Regions from separate parts of the Homo sapiens genome. Here region 2 is linked to region 1. The links are contacts of gene promoters, found by promoter capture Hi-C in human tissues and cell types (Jung and others, 2019). All regions are on one chromosome and are shown on one strand. The core of a region is centred on a gene start or on the middle of the fragment in contact, and the rest is flanking DNA. Distances in the headings are between cores, read along the strand shown. Region 1 holds the start of NPBWR2 (neuropeptides B and W receptor 2). Region 2 has its middle 24 kb from the start of PCMTD2.

The links. Contacts are between HindIII fragments. The study calls those that stand out against the background at their distance.
Region 2: a fragment that was not itself captured here is called in contact with the fragment with the promoter of NPBWR2 in region 1 in 3 of the 25 tissues and cell types used here (IMR-90 fibroblasts, dorsolateral prefrontal cortex and spleen).

The regions. Positions count from the first base shown.
Region 1 is chr20:64,106,200-64,108,930 of GRCh38, forward strand. NPBWR2 (neuropeptides B and W receptor 2) reads right to left here and starts at 1,366. Exons shown (of 2, transcript NM_005286.4): 1 at 1,165-1,366; 2 at 1-723. The coding sequence starts at 632. RefSeq lists an enhancer at 914-1,414. The HindIII fragment of the contact is 24,186 bases long and covers 1-2,731 here.
Region 2 is chr20:64,277,811-64,280,791 of GRCh38, forward strand. It overlaps the pseudogene IL9RP5. Among named protein-coding and RNA genes, the nearest start is that of PCMTD2, 24 kb to the left of the region's middle. The HindIII fragment of the contact is 9,812 bases long and covers 1-2,981 here.

The DNA.
Region 1 (2,731 bases), core at 116-2,615:
GCCTTGAACCAGACCTGCTCGGGCCACGGGAAGCTCAGCCCACAGCTTGGGACCTGCAGCTCGTTGCTGTAGACGCCAGCGAAAGAGAAGAAGGGCAGAACCAGGACCGTGACGCCCAGCCAGACACACAGGCTGGCGACCTTCGCCCCCCGGTAGGTGCGCCAGGGCATGTGGCGGGACCTCACGGTGGCCAGCACCACCAGGTATCGGTCCACGCTCATCACGGCTAGGAAGTAGATGCTGGAGAAGATGTTGTAGTGGTCGACGGCCAGCACCAGCTTGCAGAGCAGCTCCCCGAAGGGCCAGTACTGCAGCAGGTGCTCCGCGATGTTGACGGGCAGTACCAGCGTGAAGAGCCCGTCGGCGACGGCCAGGTTCAGGATGAACACGTTGGTCACCGTCTTCATCTTGGGCGCCCTTAGGATTACAAGGATGACGGCCGTGTTGCCAGTCAGCCCCACAGCACAGATCCCGGAGTACACGGCGGGCAGGAGCACATAGAGGAACGGCAGTGGCTCGGAGAAGGTGGCATTGTGGCCAGTGCCATTGTCCTGAGAGACGTTGGCACCCATCGTGGGGAGGGAGAAGGAGCCCCTGCTGTCAAGGGGCTCTGGGTGCCCAGCGGCCTGCATTGTAGCTGGGACCGTTGACGATTTGCGCCCTGGGCAGGTGGGAGGTGCCTTGGAGTTGGGTATCTGGTTGGGGGCCTCCTTGGGCTGGATTCTAGGAAAGAAAAACAACCAGAGACTTTGAGATCCGGCCGTCTGTTAGGGCACAGCCACTCCAGGTTCTCTGGCAGAGACTGCGGCCACTTTGCCAGGTCAAGGACATGGGGCCAGAGGGAGCCTGGTGGGGTGTGTGGGGGCCTCCTCCCGCCTCTTCCTGGTGAGACTTCAGCAGATCAGTTCCCTCCTCCCGCAGAGAGCAGCTGCTGGCCACCCTCCTGGGAAGAGATGTGGATCCGTCCCTGCCCCAGCAACCCGCAGATGCACGGGCTGCGTAGAATCAAGCGGTCCCTTTGGAAACACACCTCCCAAGCTCATCTCTGGCTCCCTTGAATCTGAAGGTCCTTCCCTCAGGGGTCTTGGAGTCTGCACCCTCCCTCACACCCTCCCGAGAGATGCTGCAGACCCTGCTGGTCCAGCTACTCTTCTCTCCACTGACCTGTCCAGTGCTTCGAGTCCAGAAGTTGGTAGCCTTGGTGTGTTCCTGGTTTTGGCCAGTACAGGCAGTCGCAGGGATGGAGGGCGAGGTGTGGTCCTCACTGACAGACCTCCAGCTGAGGTTTCAGGAGTTTCAAGACCTGCCCTGCTGGCTGCCTCAGCCCCGGCTGCGAGGTTCCCAGCCTGGTGTCAGTGCTGATGCTGGTGAGGGAGGGAGGCGGATCCCCCTTGCTGACGTGGAGCCCGGAAGGCAGGCCCCACCTTCCCCTGAGCTGCAGTAGCGCCTGCAGTCGGCTGTCCCAGGGTCTCCTCAGCATTCACTTACCCAGGCAGACTCCTCAGTGGGCGGCTGAGGCACGTGTGCGCCTGTGTGTCAGGAAGGGACTCCATGCAGGGGCCTCTGGGTGTGCCCAGGTCTTCGGGCAGAGGGCACTGAAGGCATCTGTGCCTCTGTCCGGGAGTCACTGTGGGCCTGGGCACCCTTATCTGTGAACATGGGTGTCTTGGTGGGTCTCCTGCCCCACCCTGTGTGTGTACATGGTGTGTTCCTGTGTGTGTGTGCCAGTTAGGACATGTACGTGTGTGGGCCTGTGTCTGCCTGTATGGGGGTCTCTGTGGGTGAGCTCTGCGTTGTATCTGAGTGGGTCTACATGTCCTTGGCTGAGTGTGGGCATCTGGGGGGTCTGTATGCCCTCATGTGGAAGCAGAACTTGTTGGCCATAGGCAACCCACCTTCTTTTTTTGTCTTTTGCTAAAAGAGGAACTCAGCCTAGGCAAGCTGTGAAAGGCTGCAGAGAAGACGTTCTCACGCTGACACGTAACTCTCCCGCCGTCCTGCAGAGGTGGTGAGCATCACACTCTGCTCTGGGTTGGTCTTTAAGTCCTTCCCTTCTCCCTGCTTTTCTTCCTTGCTGGACGCACCCTGGCTTATCCAACCCGTGTGTGTGCAGCTCGGCCGCATCTGGACCTGCTTTGCAGGCAACGCCACAGCTGACACGAGCAGTCGCCAGTCTCAGAGCCGCTCCTCAGCGGAGACGTGTTGGGTCAGAGGGTCTGTGTTTTCTTTCCTTTCTTCTTTTTTGAGACAGGGTCTTGCCCTGTCACCCAGGCTGGGGTGCAGTGGCACTATCATGGCTCACTGCAGCCCTGACCTCCCTGGGCTCAGGTGATCCTCCCACCTCAGCCTCTCAAGTAGCTGGGACTACAGGCATGTGCCACCATGCCTGGCTAATTTTTGTGTTTTTTTTTGTAGAGACGGGGTTTCACCATGTTGCCCAGGCTGGTCTCGATCTCCTGAGCTTCAGCCTCTACCTCAGCCTCCCAAAGTGCTCAGGTTATAGCCATGACCCACCGTGCCTGGTCACTGTGTGTTTTCAGTCTGGGGAGATGTGTCTGCCCATCGAGACTGTGCCCGCTGCCTGTGGGGTTGCAAGGATGTCACCGCACACTCATGGTCGGCCTTCTTTCCTGAGAGTTGCTCTGTCAAGTCTATTGGTTAGGACAGGAGCCTGGGCAGTCGCCCTGAGTACCCTGATGTCGCCAGCCTGAGGGTACACTGTGGGTGGGCC
Region 2 (2,981 bases), core at 469-2,968, 170 kb after region 1:
TTGCTCCACTATGTTGGAACCAGAATGTCCAAATTAGCACTTGAGGTTCTGCATGAAAGAGGAAATAGCAGAAAGCGGGGATAGAGTCATAGACCACACGGGCAGGACGTCCCTTTGACCTAGGAGGGCCCTGGGCAGCTGGGCACTGGGTGGTTAGAGCAGGGGTGGAGTCATAGACCACACGGGCAGGACGTCCCTTTGACCTAGGAGGGCCCTGGGCAGCTGGGCACTGGGTGGTTAGAGCAGGGGTGGAGTCAGACCACACGGGCAGGACGTCCCTTTGATCTAGGAGGGCTCTGGGCAGCTGGGCACTGGGTGGTTAGAGCAGGGGTGGAGTCATAGACCACACGGGCAGGGCATCCCTTTGATCTAGGAGGGCCCTGGGCAGCTGGGCACTGGGTGGTTAGGTGGTTGTTCTGATGGTCAAGAGGGAGAACAGCATGAGCCCTGCCCCAGGCCTGTTGTTCTGTGTCAGAGATCAGGGCTGTCTTAATGCCCCATATCCCCCACCTGGCCAGCTCCCCCAGACTCAGAGGGCAGCAGCAGTAACTACTGTGCCTTGATCCGCTAAGGTGGTGGGGGCCACCCCTCTGCCATCCCAGGAAACACGCAGAGCCTGGGCCATCCCAGCCCTTGCCGGTAGCCTTTCCTGTGACCAGCAGGGCCCAGAGACTGTGTGAGGAGGTGCTTGGGTGGTAGCTGGTCACAGGCAGAGGCACGGGCTACATGAGGACCTCCAGGGGGTGTTGCTCACTCCTATCAGGTAGCAGGGTCACTCCTGAAAGTTCTAGAACCATGACTTAGCCAGCTGCATCATGTCCATTTTGGGGAAAATAAAATCTCTGGAGCTGACCCTTGGCTGGGACTGGACCTCCCAAGAAGTGGCACCTATGCAATGGTTAGAGGTCTGGTCCAGATGGAGGCTGAAGGCTCCTCCTCACCCACTCCACTTGGCACCTGTGGGGAGGGGCCACTGCCCTCAGCATCCTCTTCCCACAGCACTGCCACCCCTCCGCCCCAACACTTCCTCCTGTCCCCTTTCTGGCCTTATCCCTGGCCTCTCTGAGAAGAGGGATGTGATCCCACGGCCTGCCCTCACCTCCTTAAAGGGCCAGCCTGGGCCCAGTGGACACAGTTGAGACACCATCTTGTGCCTCTTCCTGTGCCTTCCTGAGGCACCTTTCCTAGAGATTAAAGGGACATAACGGCTGTTCCAAAGTGTTGATAGCTGGAGGAGGAGCCCGGGGAGATGTGAGGCACGGGGTTTGGGCAGCCCTGGGTTTTCCAGGCTCCAGTGACAGCAGGATGGAGGCTCAGGGTCAGCTCTGGGTACAGTGGGGTGGAGACTCAGGGAACATCTTCAGGGAGGCCACCTCCACCCCATCCCTCCTGGTCCACAGAGATCTGTTGTCTCGAAGTTCTGAAGTCCAGAGTCTGGAATGAGGGTGTTGGCAGGGCCGGCCCTAGGGAGGCATCTGTTCCAGGGCCTTTCTCCAGCTTCTGGTAGTTTCTTTGCTTGTGACAGCAAAGCTCCAGTCTTCACAAACCTTCTTCCCTGTGCGTGTTTCTGTGTCCACATTCCCCTTTTGATAAGGACATAATCATCATGAATGAAGCATGGCCCTAATGACTTCCGAACTTCATCATTTGCAAAGACCCTATTTCCATATAATGCCATACTTGTAGGTACTGGGTGTTAGGGCTTCAACATATGAATTGTTAGGGATGGAACTCAACCTATAACCTTGTCCCTGCCTCTGCCAGTGATCTCCACATTCCTGCTGGCCCCAAAGGCACCATGGCCCCTTCCAGGGTGCCCCAGGCAGATCACGGGAGGGCCTGACTGCTGGGGATGGGGCTGGTGCTGGGATCCTCTGCCCAGTGAGGGCTGGGATGAGACTATTATGGGGTTGGGGGTGCTGAAGTTTTGAAGGCAGGGTAAAACAGAGGCTGGGTCCCTCTCTGGACCCCAGGCTCCAGGGAACACCTCTCCTGGGAGTTCCCATGCTCCCTGTGGCCTGGGCAAAAAAAAAAAAAAAAAGTACTTGCAGTCCGAGGCCCCCCAAAGGCAAAAGCCTGGCTCCGATAAGCATCCTCCCCACCCTGTGTGCCTTTCGAGCCCCTGAGGTTTGTGGGGAGTCTCAGAGGTTTTGTGGGGAGCCTCAGACCAGATCCTGGTCAGCAGGGTTGAGGCAGGCCTGAGAATGTATCTTTAGCATCCAGAGATTGGGAGGGTGTGGACGGAAGCAAGGTTCAGGCATCCTCAGCTCTAACTAAGTATCAAATACTAGTGTGAATCCACTTCCTGGAGCTGGCCTCTGGGGAGCCTTGGGTTGGTGTACATAAACAGGGTCTGCCTGATTCATCAGGTTTCTCATGGGGCCTGGACCACCTCATGATCACAAAAGTGACCGCACAGCTTCAATGCCTCTCCTGTGTGGGCTGGACACACGTTCATCTGACTCACAAACTTTCCCTGGGTGGCACCTGGAGCCCTGGCTCTGGGCTGGAACCTGAGTGTGAAGCCACTGGAGGCTGTGGGATTGCAGGTCAGGTGAGTCACTCAGCCACCTGAGCCTGGCCCTCCGCTCTGCACAGGGGACTAGCTATAGATAGCAGGGAGTTCACCTGAGCAAGACACCAGCACACGTTGGTGCTCAGAAAACTCTGATTTCCTTTTATTGAGATGGGACAACCCTTGGAGACCATGTGTCAAGGTCTGGATTACAGTAGGACAAGGTTCAAAGGGCCCTGTGAGCCCTGAGGTGTTGCTGATCCCTGGGTGTCTGTGAAGGCGAGAGAAGGTGACCTGGATCTGGAATGAGGAAACGGCCATGGGTTTAGGAGCTGGCAGACATGTGTCCAGAATGTGGTTGGCCAGGCCTAGACAGCGCTGGGCTGTGGAGGGCCTTGAACCCCAGGCTAAGGGAGCATGTGGGAAGAGGGCTCACCCTGGTGAGGGAATGCTGGGGTGGGATTTT